2 separate regions of the Homo sapiens genome follow, and region 1 is linked to region 2. The links are contacts of gene promoters, found by promoter capture Hi-C in human tissues and cell types (Jung and others, 2019). All regions are on one chromosome and are shown on one strand. Each heading gives the region's core, a stretch centred on a gene start or on the middle of the fragment in contact. The rest is flanking DNA. Distances are from core to core; before and after follow the strand shown. Region 1 has its middle 9.0 kb from the start of IP6K2. Region 2 holds the start of SLC25A20 (solute carrier family 25 member 20).

Region 1 (7,267 bases), core at 3,468-5,967, 170 kb before region 2:
CCTGAGTAGCTGGGACTACAGGCGTGCACCACCACTAATTTTTGTATTTTATGTAGAGACAGGGTTTCACCATGTTGGTTAGGCTGGTCTCATACTCCTGACCTCAGGTGATCCACCCACCTCAGCCTCCCAAAGTGGTGGGATTACAGGCGTGAGCCACCGTGCGTGGCCAAATGTTCTTTTACATGTCTTTTGGTGGACACACCATTTGTTTCTGTTGCATATAACTCAGGCTATTTGGATACTTCCACCATCATCCTTGATGTGTTGGATTCTGTCCTCAGGCTTATGGCCCTTGCATTGAAAGATAGCTGCATCCTTTCCAAACATCATATCAGTATTCAAAGTAGGAGGTAGGCTGGCACCAGCCACATCTATCCCCTTTATCAGGTAAGCAAATGCTTTCCCAGAAGCCCCAGCAGACTTCCATTTATTGTTCATTGACCAGTGACTCAGGCTTCTCAGGCTCACAAGGAGGCTGAGAAGTCAGAGAATGGGTCAGGATTTGTCTATTACTTGGGACTGGACACTTACCCTCCTGGACAAAATTGAGGTTTGTTAGCAAAGAAGGAGAAAAGGGTATTAAGAGGCAATGGACAGAACCTCACAACATGAAAAGACGTTGAAACTCATCAGAAGGCAAGGAATGGTCATCAAAGTAAGCAATATAGCAACGACAAAACTATGGAGAGAATAGGACTTCATCAGGGTGAAAGTATTGGAGTGTACCTTGCCACTGAAGATCTTTTATTTACTTCAAGAGAGATTTAAGGGTGGCAGTTTGAGATAAAACCAGGAGATATCAGTTATGATGGTTTGGAGGAAAAGTGTAAACTGGCAGTGTAAACAAGGGCAGGGCATTTATGAGTAGTTGAGAATGGTGAATAGGAGTATGACTACACAGAAGATAGTAGGGATGACAAGTTTTTGGGGCATAGTCCAAGTAGTGGGGGTGACTGCGTATAGCCCTGTTGCAAAAAGTAGGGTAAGGATGAATAGACTTAAAAGAATGAAGGGATGTATTAGGCTCATAAGGGTTATTACTGTTTTTCAGAAATGCGAGTGAGTTTAAGGGAAGTAGGGGAGAGTACTTCCGACTTCCAGGAGGAAGAAGAGAGATCAGGCTGGCTGGCTGACAGACACAGCTTTATTCTGGAATGGTGAACCCAATGGGGAGGGTCCTGCAGGCGGATGGCAGTTGGGGTGCTATAGATGACTAAGTAGGGTCCAGTCCATCGAGGTTGTAGAGTTTGAGGGGTCAGATTTTTAATAAGAACTGATCGTCCAGCTAGGGTGTCTTTATATGTCTGGGAATCTGGAGTAGGCAAGAGAAGATTAGCAGCCTGGCGAATTTCCTGTCTAGCCTGCTTGAGGACTGGAAGATAGTCACCTAGAGGGCTGGTGTCTGGGACGAGGCTGGGGCTGAACAAGAAAGTACGTCCATATAAAAGTTTAAATGGACTGTGCCCTGTAGCATCTCGAGAACAGGCTCTAATTCTGAGAAGGGCAACAGGTAAAAATACTGTCCAGTCCTTTTTAAGTTGAAGGATGAGCTTAGTGAGGTGTGTCTTTAAAATACCATTAGTCTGGCCAGGTGCGGTGGCTCACACCTGTAATCCCAGCACTTTGGGAGGCCGAGGCGGGCGGATCATGAGGTCAGGAGATCAAGACCATCCTGGCTAACATGGTGAAACCCTGTCTCTACTAAAAAAAATACAAAAAATTAGCCAGGTGTGGTGGCGGGCACCTGTAGTCCCAGCTACATGGGAGGCTGAGGCAGGAGAATGGTGTGAACCTGGGAGGCAGAGCTTGCAGTGAGCAGAGACTGGGCCACTGCACTCCAGCCTGGGAGACAGAACAAGACTCTGTCTCAAAAAAAAAAAAAATACCATTAGTCCATTTTACCTTTCCTGAAGATTGAGGACGGTAAGGGGTGTGAAGGTTTTGCTGAATATCAAGAGTCTGAGAAACTGCTTGGGTGATATGACTAATAAAGGCCAGTCTGTTATCGGACTGTATAGAGATGGAAAGGCCAAACTGAGGAATTATGTCTGACAGAAGGGAAGAAATGACCGCGGTGGCCTTTTCAGACCCTGTGGGAAAGGCCTCTACCCATCCAGTGAAAGTGTCTACCCAGACCAAGAGGTATTTTAGTTTTTTGACTCAGGGCATGTGAGTAAGTCAATTTGCCAGTCCTGGGCAGGGGCAAATCCCTGAGCTTGATGTGTAGGGAAGGGAGGGGGCCTGAACAATCCCTGAGGAGTAGTAGAACAGGAGATAGAACACTGAGAAGTGACTTTTTTGAGGATAGATTTCCACAATGGAAACAAAATAAGAGGTTTTAAGAGACGGGCTAGGGCCGGGCGTGGTGGCTCACACCTGTAATCCCAGCACTTTGGGAGGCCGAGGTGGGCAGATCACAAGGTCAGGAGATTGAGACCGTCCTGGCTAACATGGTGAAACCCCATCTCTACTAAAAACACAAAAAAATTAGCTGAGCGTGGTGGTGGGTGCCTGTACTCCCAGCTACTGGGGAGGCAGAGGCGGGAGAATGGCGTGAACCCGGGAGGCGGAGCTTGCAGTGAGCCAAGATCGTGTCACTGCACTCCAGCCTAGCCAACAGAGCGAGACTCTGTCTCAAAAACAAAAACAAAAACAAAAGAGATGGGCTAGCGGCTTGTAACCTACATTAAAGAGGTTATGAAATGATGACAGAATAGAATGGGCCTGTGAGGCTGGAAGGAGATATTCTTCTTGGTCTAAGAACCACTTGCCTTGTGTGGGAAGAGACTGACAGGTGGAAGTTTTAGTGGGAGAGTAGGTGGGAGTGACTGATAAGAGGAAGAAAAACTGGCCACGAAGGACAGAAGTTAGAATGCTAGCTGCTTGTTTAGCTGTCTTATCAGCATAACTGTTGCCTTGAGCGATGGGATCTGATGCCTTTTGATGGCCCTTGCAGTGAATGACTCTTTGGAAGTAAAGCAGCCTTGAGAAGAGTTTTTATTAAAGAGGCGTTAATGATGGAGGACCCTTGCGTAGTGAGGAAACCTCTTTCAGCCCATATAACAGCAATGGTGGTGCAGGATATGGAAGGCATATTTAGAGTCAGTATAAATATTGACGTGTAGTCCTTTTGCAAGAGTGAGGGCCCGAGTTAAGGCAATGAGTTCAGATTGCTGAGAGGTAGTGGAGCTGGGCAGAGTGGTAGCCTCAATGATAGATGTGGAAGATACTATAGCATAGCCTGCCTTTGCTGGTGAGTGGCAATTAGGCCTGGTGGAACTGCCATCAATAAACCGAGTATGATCAGGGTGAGGAACAGGAAAGAAGGAAATATGGGTAAATGGAGTGAATGTCAGGTGGATCAGAGAGATACAGTCATGGGGGTCGGAGTGGTATCCGGAATAATGTGGGAGGCCAGATTGAAGTCCAGACCAGGAACAATGGTAATTGTGGGAGACTCAACAAAGAGTGAGTATAGCTGAAGGAGCCAGGGAGCAGAAAGTATATGCGTCAGGTGTGAGGAAGAAAATAGATTTTGGAAGTTATGAGAACTGTAGAGAGTGAGTTGACCATAGTTTGTGAATTTGAGGGCCTGTAAAACTATTAGGGTGGTGGCAGCCACCGCACAGAGGCATGATGGCCAGCTTAAAATAGTAAGGTCAATTTGTTTGGACAAAAAGCCCACAGGGTGCAGTCCCAGTCCTTGTGTAAGAATTTTGACTGCACAGCCCTGCACTTCAGCTGTGTGTAATGAAAAGGGTTGGGATGGGTCAGGCAGAGCTAGTGTGGGAGCAGTCTCTAGAGCTGTCTTTAAGGAATGGAAACAGGAGTGGGGAAAGGATTTAGGATCTATGGGGTCAGCTAGGTTTTTCTTTGTGAGTTTATATAATGGTTTTGTTAGGATGGCAAAACCACGTATCCAAAGGTGAAAGTATCCAACCATGCCCAGAAAGGAAAAAAGTTGTTGTTTTATAGAAGGGGTTGGGGTTTGGGAGATTAGCCAGACATAATCACCAGACATAAACACCATGTGTGTTTTTATGAAAAATTATGCCAAGATAGGTAATTGGGTGAGGAAGAAATTTGGGCTTGACTGAAGTAATGGGGGCTGTCCCTGAAGCCTTGCGGCAGTATAGCCCAGGTAAGTTGCTGAGGCTGATGGGTGTCAGGGTCAGTCCAGGTAAAAGCAAAGAGGGCCTGGGACGAGGGGTGCAGGGGAATAGTGAAAAAGTGTTTCTAAGATCAAGAACGGAATAGTGCGTTGTGGAGGAAGGTATTGAGGACAAAAGAATGTATGGGTTGGGCACCACAGCGTGGATAGGCAAAACAATTTTGTTGATAAGGTGCAGATCCTGAGCTAACCTGTAAGACTTGTCTGGTTTTTGGACAGGTAAAATGGGGGAATTGTAAGGAGAGTTTATAGGCTTTAGAAGCCCATGCTGTAGCAGGTGAGTGATAACAGGCTTTAACTTTTTTAAAGCCTGCTGTGAGATGGGATATTGGCATTGAGTGGGGTAAGGGTGATTAGGTTTTAATGGGATCATAAGGGGTGCATGATTGGTCACCAAGGTAGGAGTAGAGGTATCTTATACTTGTGGATTAAGGTAAGGAGACACAAGGGGAGGATGTGAAGGAGGCTTTGAATTGGGGAAAAGGGCAGCAATGAGGTGTGGCTCTAGCCCAGGAATAGTCAGGGAAGTAGATAATTTAGTTAGAATGTCTTGACATAATAAGGAAAGTGGGCAGGTGGAAATAAATAAAAAGGAGTGCATAAAAGAATGTTGTCCACGTTGGCACCAGAGTGGGGGAGTTTAAGGGGTTTTGAAGCTTGGCCATCAATACCCACAACAGTTATGGGGGCAAGGGAAACAGGCCCTTGAGAAGAAGGTAACGTGGAGTGGGTAGCCCTTGTATCGATTAAACAGGGGATGGACTTAGCCTTCACTGTGAGAGTTACCCGAAGCTCGGCATCCGTGATGGTCCAGGGGGCTTCTGAAGTGATCAGGCAGCATCAGTTTTCAGCCGCTAAGCCGAGCAGATCTGGGAAGGAGTCAGTCAGAGAGCCTTGGCCCAGAGCTTTAGGGACTCTAGGAGTGGCTGCCAGGCAAGATGGGCAGTCTGATTTCCAGTTGGTCCCTGCACAGATGGGACACGGCTTGGGAGTAATCCCAGGCTGTGGGCACTCCTTGGCCCAGTGGCCAGATTTCTGGCATTTGAAGCAAGATCCTGATGGAGGAGGTCCTGTAGGAATGCCTGACCACTGTGGTTTAGGCATTTTGAAGTTCTTATGTGCTGGAGGTGCGGCTGGATTTTGTCTCACAGCAGAGGCAAGTAATCGTAACTCAGAAATGTGTTGCCGTCTGGCTGCCTGCTCTCTATTACTGTACACCTTGAAGGTGAGATTGATTAATTCCTGTTGTGGGGTTTGAGGGCCAGATTCCAATTTTTGAAGCTTTTTTTTTTTTTTTTTTTCATGTCAGGAGCTGACTGGGTGATAAAATGTATATTGAGAATGAGACGGCCTTCTGACCCTTCAGGGTCTAGGGCTGTAAAGTGTCTCAGGGTTGCTGCCAAATGAGCCATGAACTGGGCTGGGTTTTCGTCTTTACCTTGGGTAGGTTTTTTTTTTAAGTTTATCGTAATTAACAGCTTTGTATGCTGCCTTTTTAAGCCCTTCAACTAGGCAGGAAACCATGTAATCTTGCCTAGCTATACCTGGGGAATCTGCCTGATAGTTTCATTGGGGATCCGCTTAGAGAACTGCTCTACTGCCTTCTTGGAGGTCTGGCTCATGACACCAGCAGTTGTCAGCATGAGACTGGGCTAGAGAAAAAACTCTTTCCTGTTCATGTGGGGAGAGGGTAGAAGTTAGGATGACATTTAAGTCACTCCAGGTTAAATTGTACGACAGAGTTAGATATCGGAATTCCTGTATATATTTAGTGAGGTCTGATGAGAAAGAGCCTAAAAGCTGGCTGATTTGGGAAAGGTCTGATAGAGAAAAAGGCACATGTACCCTGACTATGCCTTCAGCTCCAGCCACCTCTCTAAGAGGAAATTGTTGGGCAGGTGGGGAAGAGCTAGTCACAGAATGAAACTGTAAGCCAGACCAGGTATCAGGAGGGGAGGTGATAGAAGGGTTGTAGGGTGGAGGAGCAGAGGCTGAGGAAGAATTTGAGCCTGATTCAGACTGGCGGAGAGCGACCTGAAGAGGAGAAGTCTGGGGAGGAGGGGAGAGGTCAGATGGGTAGGTAGAAAAGAAAGATTGAAAGGACTCAAGAGCTTGGGGTGGAGACTGAAGGAACAGACAGGAGAAAAAGAAGAAAGATTTGGGACGAGTCACATTGGGAGCAGAGACCAGGGAGGGAACAAAGTGTGAAAAATGCCTGGATGTAAGGCACCTCAGACCATTTGCCCATTTTTTGACAAAAATTATCTAGATCTTGTAGGATGGAGAAATCAAAAGTGCCGTGGTTTTTTTTTTTTTTTTTTTTTTTTTTTTTTTTTTTTTTTTTGCCATTTAGAGCCATTATCAAGTTTGTATTTGGGCCAAGCCATGTTGCAGAAGAAAATAAGACACTTAGGTTTTAGGTCAGGCGAGAGTTGAAGAGGTTTTAAGTTCTTGAGAACACAGGCTAAGGGGGAAGAAGGAGGAATGGAGGGTGGAAGGTTGCCCATAGTGAAGGAGGCAAGCCTAGAGAAAAGAGAGGGTAGAGACACTTCGGGGGGTGGGGGGGTGGTACTTGCCACCCAGAGGAGGTGGTACTTGCCACCAAGGTGAAGGATCAAGGCAGGCATCCCCGTGGTGATCAGACACCTCTGAAACGTGGGTGAATAATCAGGCAGGCATCCCCGCTGTGATTAGACACCTAGACAACAAGGGAAGACTGTCTTCCCGAGTCCTTGACCAGTGCCGGAGTTTTGGGTTCACAGATAAAACACATCTCCTCTGTTTCTACCAGAAAAGGAAATGAACTGAAATTGAGGGAAGGGAGAGATTGAAGGGTAGCGCAGAAATTGAAAGGAGAAAGAAGTTGAGGGATAGCGAGAGAGGTTGGAGAAGAGGGTAAAAAGAGTCTGCTTACCCGATTTAAAATCGGTGAGATGTTCCTTGGGCTGGTTGGTTTGAGGACTGGAGGTCGTAGGTGGATCCTTCTCATGGAGCAAAGAGCAGGAGGACAGGGGATTGATCTCCCAAGGGAGGTACCCTGATCCGAGTCACGGCACCAAAATGTCACACGTGTCCATGTGAAGAGACCACCAA
Region 2 (7,062 bases), core at 3,658-6,157:
ACATGGCAAAACCCTGTCTCCACTAAAAATACAAAAATTAGCCAGGTGTGGTGGCACGCACCTGTAATCCCAGCTACTTGGGAGGCTGAGGCAGGAGAATTGCTTGAACCCGGGAGGCAGAGGTTGTGGTGAGTCAAAATCGCACCTTTGCACTTCAGCCTGGGCAAGAGTGAGACTCCTTCTCAAAAAAAAAAAAAAAAGAAGAAGATTCTCTCTCTCTCTCTCTCTCTCTCTCTCTCTCTCTCGACAGGGTCTTACAGGCTGGAGTCTTTGCCGATTTTTAATTGGATTGTCTTTTTTTTTTTTTTTGAGGCAGAGTCTTGCTCTGTCACCCAGGCTGGAGTGCAGTGGCTCAATCTCAGTTCACCACAAGCCTCCTGGGTTCAAGTGATTCTCCTGTCTCAGCCTCCCGCGTAGCTGGGATTACAGGTGCGTGCCACCACACCCAGGTAACTTTTGCATTTTTTTTTTTTTTTTTAGTAGAGACAGGGTTTCGCTGTGTTGGCCAGACTGGTCTCGAACTTCTGACCTCAGGTGATCCACCCGCCTCGGCCTCCCAAAGTGCCGGGATTACAAGCATGAGCCACCGGCCCGGCCCTGATAAATGTTTATTGTTGTTTTAAGCCATTAAGTTTTGGGGTAAGTTGGTTTGGTTTTTTGGGTTTTTTTGAGACAAGGTCTTGCTCTGTCACCTAAGCTGGCATGCAGTGGTGCCATCTTGGCTAACTGCAGCCTTAAACTCCTGGGCTCAAGTGATCCTCCTGCCTCATTGGAGGAAACTGGTAAACCACAATAGATAACTGATATATCCAGTTACTTCTGCAGTCTTTTTCCTGAATTTTGTTTTGTTTTGTTTTGTTTTGAGACAGAGTTTCACTCATTGCCCAGACTGGAGAGCAATGGCATGATCTTGGCTCACCGCAACCTCTGCCTCCCAGGTTCAAGCGATTCTCCTGCCTCAGCCTCTCAAGTAGCTGGGATTACAGGCATGTGCCACCACTCCCGGATAATTTTGCATTTGTATATTTATTTTTATTTATTTATTTATTTTTTGAGATGTAGTTTCACTCGTCGCCCAGGCTGCACAGCAATGGTGCGATCTGGGCTCACCGCAACCTCTGCCTCCTGGGTTCAAGCGATTCTCCTGCCTCAGCCTCCCAAGTAGCTGGGATTACAGGTATGCACCACCAAGCCCAGCTAATTTTGTGTTTTTAGTAGAGATGGGATTTCTCCACGTTGCTCAGGTTGGTCTCGAACGTCCAATCTCAGGTGATCTGCCCGCCTCAGCCTCCCAAAGTGCTGGGATTATAGGCGTGAGCCACCATGCCTGGCCTAATTTTGTATTTTTAGTAGAGACGGAGCTTCTCCATGTTGGTCACCTGCTCTTGAACTCCCAACCTCAGGTGATCTGCCCGCCTCAGACTCCCAAAGTGGGATTACAGGCGTGAGCCACCGCGCCCAGCCCTTCCTGGATGTTTTTCCTGCTCACTGTTCTGCTTCCAAATCCTTCTCAAGGTTGCTATTATACTAACCTTTCCAAAACATCATTTTTACCATGTTGTTTCTTTATTTCTTTGGAATCTCTTATTCTTGTATTTGTCAGGTCCTTCTATATCATCATTTTTACCATTTTTTTAATAATTTCTTTAGAATTTATTATTCTTGTATTTGTCAGGGCCTTCCATATCAAACCAAGGAAGTCCCTCTCTGGGCAACAGAGGTGACACGTAAGTCTGAGGGGTTTATGGGACACAATAGAAATGCCCAGAGGCCACCATACCTTTACATCCAAAATCCCTCATATTGTCCTTCAGATCTCCCATAGTCAGGCATAACCTCCCCTAGTTAGTAGAGAGAGAGAAATGGATCAAAGCTTCTGACTAGACCAGGTACAGTGGCTCACACCTATAATCCCAGCACTTCAGGAGGCCAAGGCCGGAGGATCACTTGAGGCCACGAGTTTGAGACCAGCCTGCCCAACATGGAGAAACCCCATCTCTACTAAAAATACAAAAATTAGCCAGGCATGGTGGTGGGCACCTATAATCCCAGCTACTCAGGAGGCTGAGGCAAAAGAATTGCTTGAACTCGGGAGATGGAAGTTGCCATGAGCCAAGATCCTGCCACTGTACTCCAGCCTGGGTGACAGAGGGAGAGTCTTGTCTCAAAAAAAAAAAAAAAAAAAATTCTGACTAATACCTTGTTGTGATTTTTTTTTTCTTTTGAGACAGTGTCTCATTCTGTTGCCCAGAATGGAGTGCAAAGGCTCACTGCAGCCTCAAACTCCTAGGTTCAACCGATCCTCCAGCCTCAGCCGCCTGAGTAGCTGGGATTACAGATGTGCACCACCATGCCCAGCTAATTTTTGTATTTTTTATAGACATGAGGTCTTGCCATGTTGCCAAGGCTGCCTTTTTGTGATTTTATATACACTTCATACCTCATACCTGTCTCAACAGGATATCAGCCATCCAAACCAGCAAGAACATTAAAGTCCTTTGCAGGTGGTTTTTGTTTTGTTTTGTTTTGTTTTGTTTTGTTTTGTTTTGTTTTTGGGAAGGAGTCTCACTCTGTCACCCAGGCTGGAGTGCAATGGCACAATCTCAGCTCACTGCAACCTCCGCCCTGTGGGTTCAAGCGATTCTCCTGCCTCAGCCTCCCAATTAGCTGGGATTACAGGCACCTGCCACCACATGCAGCCAATTTTTTTTTTTTGTATTTTTAGTAGAGATGGGATTTCACCATGTTGGCCAGGCTGGTCTCGAACTCCTGACCTCAGGTGATCCACCTGCCTCAGCCTCCCAAAGTGCTGGGATTAACAGGCATGAGCCCACCGTGACCGGCCTAGGTTGTCTTATTTTATAATATGATCCCCACTTGCAAGCCACACTCACCTTCACTCCTGCCTTCCCATCAGACTGTCTGGGTCTCCCTACTCCTTCAGTCTGAACTCACCCAGCACTTGAATGCCTGTTCTAACGCACCACCTTCCATAGAGCCTTTTCATGACCCACTCTGAAGCGCTGCAGCTTTTGCCTTGTCAGGACACACAGCCCACAGCTCAGTTACACTATCTTGGACTTCTTTTTTTTCTTCTTCTCCTTTTTTTTTTTTTTTTTTAACCTTGGAACTCTGAAAGTACCTTAAGGTCAGGCTTTGATTGGAGCCCACCCAGCTCACTAAGGCCAAAAACACAGCAGTCAGCAATTTGTGGTTTTGGTTTAAGCTAAAAAGAGGCTTTCTGGTTGCTAAATATGCCAGTGAGCATTTCAGTTATTTGCACTTCAGTGCAGAGGTCATCCAGTCCTTCTTGGGAGTGACATCAAGGACAAAGGTGATATGGAGGTAGGAGCAATATTTGTGTGTGTGTGAATATATATATATATATATATATTTTTTTTTTTTTTTTTTTTAAGGGCGGCCCCAGAGGCCTAGAACTAATAAGATATCTGCCTATATGGACCAAGAGCAGGAAGAAAGGCCAGACAATCGTCCCTCAGTAGACAGTGCCGCTTGGAATGACCACAGTCTGGGAAGCACTAACACATGGCATTTACCACCAGCTAAATAAACATTTGATTTCATGTTGCACAATGACCTAGCCAGTCCAGCTACTTTAACCCTGGTCTTCCTATAGAATGACCCCAGTATGAGCTCTACTTCAGGGCAGCTCCTCTCTTGGATGAAAGGCAGCAAAGAGCTTGCTGCCCAAGCTGGCCAAGAGGAAGTGCCCACAAAACTATTTCGCTGTGGAAGAAATCTGACCCAACATCCTAACAAACCCCCTCACATGGGCTTCCAATCTTTTAAAACTCATGTCTGCTCCCCACAGGCCCACCCTGGCAATGACTTGTCAATTTCCTTCACGTCTACGTCTAGAAAAAAAGTGAGAAAACTGGATGCAGCTTCGAGTGCTAAGCCATGGGGGATGGACTTTGGTCCCCAAGCAAAGCATTAATGAAGGTGTTGCAAGGGGAATAGTTGAGATATGATATGAGGAAGACCAGAGAACAATTCCTGATGAACGTCCTCCCTCCCAAGCCTCAGTCTGACCATAGCTTCCTCATCTGGGAGTTGTGAGAATGAGGCTGGCCTTGTGCAAAGCTGATCACCTTGCTTTCCGTGGAAGGGGCTCGGTCACTGAGGTCATCATTGCTTCTCACAGGGATGCCTCTGCCCAGGAGGCTGAGCAGGCCACCGTTGGGTGACAGGCCGAAGAGTGTCAAGTATCTCCCCGGGCCGGGAAAGGTGCGAAAGAGATGGGTACTCTTGCCCCAGGGGAATGTATCAAAGGACACCTCCAGAACAACCGTACCGCTCTGTCTTTAGTTGTCTTCCTGGGGCAGGCTTTACAGGGGACCTGTTTCAACCTTAACGATAATATTAGTGTTGGCTGAAACCAAAACTATGGAGAGACGTTTATTCCTTCCCATCCCTAAAGAAGTGGCGCAGGGTCAGAAGAGACTGCGGGACAGGGAACTTTACATCAGAGCTCTTGACAGGCAGTTAGAGGCTGCTCACTTTGCGCCGCCGCCTGGCTCTTTGGGGCGCAAGGTACAGCTTCCTGCCCACCCCTGAAAGAGAGATTCCCTAGACTTCTCACGGAAGCTCACACATGCCCCTCTTCTGCCCAGCGTCCGCGCCTCGCGGGGGACCATGCTTTCCGCGCCCCGCCCGGGCCTCCTCCCCAAAGCCTGCGACCCAGCCTCCCGCACCTTGACCGTGTCCAGAGGGTGACCGACGAACACCAGGCACACGCCGCCAAAGCCGCCGGCCAGCAGGTTCTTGAGCGGGCTGATGGGTTTTGGCTGGTCGGCCATGGTCAGTCCGTCTGTCACTCCGTCTGTCAGTTCTCGGGCCGTCCTGGCTTCTCAGCCCCAGCTGCAGTGCCGGCGCCGCCGACCTTTCACCCACTTTTGGGTGGGCGGGGCACGAGCCCGGGGCAGGTCGGGAGGAGGGCCCAGTTGGCACGGTAGGGCTTCCGCCCGGGGCTGCTTCCGGCCTCGGCCCCGCTTCGATGGGCGTGGCAGAGCGCAAAGCCGCATGGGCGGGGTTTGGGAGTGTGGGCCAGCGGGCCTATTCCTCCAGGAAGCCTTCCCAGACTTCCATGTTTCCTCTGAGCTCCCATTCATCCACTCACTCCAGAGAGATCAATTGCGCCCTGCCATATGCCAGGCGTCCTTCTAGGTGCTGGAGGCACCCCTGGTAGTACAACACACAGGTCCCTGTCCTCCTGGAATTTACAGACCATAACAAAGATAAATAACTAAAAAATGCATAGTGTATCAAGTAGTAATAAGTACTACGGAGAAAAATCCAGGAAGAGAGTTAGAGGGTGTGTGGGACAAGTGATTTGCAATTTTAGTTCGTTGAATAAGGGAGGGTTTAACTGAAAAGGTGACAGGATTCAAGACCTGAGAAGATGAGAGAGGGAGTTCTGTTCACACATAACAGGGTCAAGGGTGAGGAACCTTCCACCCAGAAGAAAAAGAAAATGCAAAAGCCTTGAGATGGTCTGTGCCTGACATGTTTGAGAAACCACAGGAAGAGGGAGGGTAGTAGCTGATGAGGCGACAGAGGTTTTGGAGGCACTAGAAGACAGGTTTGGGCCTGGTGTTATGGCTCATGTCTGTAATCCCAGCTCTTTGGGAGGCCAAGGCGAGAGGATTGCTTAAACCCAGGAGTTTGAGACCAGCCTGACTTATATAGCGAGACTCTTGTCTCTAAAAAAAAAAAGTTAGGCCGGGCCCAGTGGCTCACACCTGTAATCCCAGCACTTTGGGAGGCCAAGGCAGGCATATCAACTGAGGTCAGGAGTTTGAGACCAGCCTGACCAACATGGAGAAACCCCGTCTCTACTAAAAATACAAAATTAGCGGGGCATGGTGGCGCATGCCTGTAATCCCAGCTACTTGGGAGGCTGAAGCAGGAGAATCACTTGAACTTGGGAGGCAGAGATTGCGGTGAGCCCAGATCGTGCCATTGCACTCCAGCCTGGGCAAAAAGAGCGAAACACTGTCTCTACAAAAAAAAAAAAAAAAAAAAAAAAAAAAAGTTAAAGGCCCGACGCAGTGGCTCATGCCTATAATCCCAGCACTTTGGAAGGCCAAGGCAGGTGGATCACCTGAGGTCAGGAGTTCAAGACCAGCCTGGCCAACATGGTCAAACCCCGTCTCTACTAAAAATACAAAAACTTGCCAGCCGTAATGGCAGACGCCTATGCCTGTGATCCCAGCTACTCGAGAGTCTAAGGCAGGAGAATCGCTTGAGCCCAGGAGGCGGAGCTTGCAGTGAACCGAGATCTTGCCACTGTCTCTCCTCTGAAGGACGTAGAAGTCATTGCAGGGTACTGAGTGGGGAGCGACATAGTCTGACATCGTTATCAGGATCCCCCTTTGATTGCTGGGTGAAAATAGACTCCAGGGGGCAAGAAGAAACAAGGAGCCTTAAGGAGGCTAAAAGCCATGGCCAGAGATGTTGACTTGCGCCAGGGCATAACAGAGGAGGTAGTAAGAAGTGGTCAGATTCGGCCGGGCGTGGTGGCTCACGCCTGTAATCCCAGCACTTTGGGAGGCCGAGGCGGGTGGATCTCAAGGTCAGGAAATCGAGACCATCCTGGCTAACATGGTGAAACCCCGTCTCTACTAAAAATACAAACAAAAAAATTAGCCGGGCATCATGGCGGGCATCGTGGCGGGCATCTGTAGTTCCAGCTACTCGGGAGGCTGAGGCAGGAGAATGGCGTGAACCTGGGAGGCGGAGGTTGCAGTGAGCTGAGATCGTGCCACTGCACTCCAGCCTGGGTGACTGAGCAAGACTCCGTCTCAAAAAAAAAAAAAAAAAAAAAAAAGAGGTGGCCAGATTCTGGATATAGTCTAAAGAAAAAAAAATTTTAAGTTGTCAATTAATAGGATATAAAGCAGCTAGGCACAGTGGTTCACGCCTGTAATCCCAGCACTTTGGGAGACCGAGGCATACAGATCATGAGGTCAGGAGATCGAGACCATCCTGGGTAACACAGTGAAACCCCTTCTCTACTAAAAACACAAAAAATTAGCCAGG

The links. Contacts are between HindIII fragments. The study calls those that stand out against the background at their distance.
Region 1: a fragment that was not itself captured here is called in contact with the fragment with the promoter of SLC25A20 in region 2 in 1 of the 25 tissues and cell types used here (dorsolateral prefrontal cortex).

Annotation. Positions count from the first base shown.
Region 1 is chr3:48,722,567-48,729,833 of GRCh38, forward strand. No RefSeq gene overlaps it. Among named protein-coding and RNA genes, the nearest start is that of IP6K2, 9.0 kb to the left of the region's middle. The HindIII fragment of the contact is 6,623 bases long and covers 1,407-7,267 here.
Region 2 is chr3:48,893,975-48,901,036 of GRCh38, forward strand. SLC25A20 (solute carrier family 25 member 20) reads right to left here and starts at 4,908. Exons shown (of 9, transcript NM_000387.6): 1 at 4,716-4,908. The coding sequence starts at 4,820. RefSeq lists an enhancer at 3,829-3,878 and a silencer at 4,459-4,648. The HindIII fragment of the contact is 14,411 bases long and covers 1-7,062 here.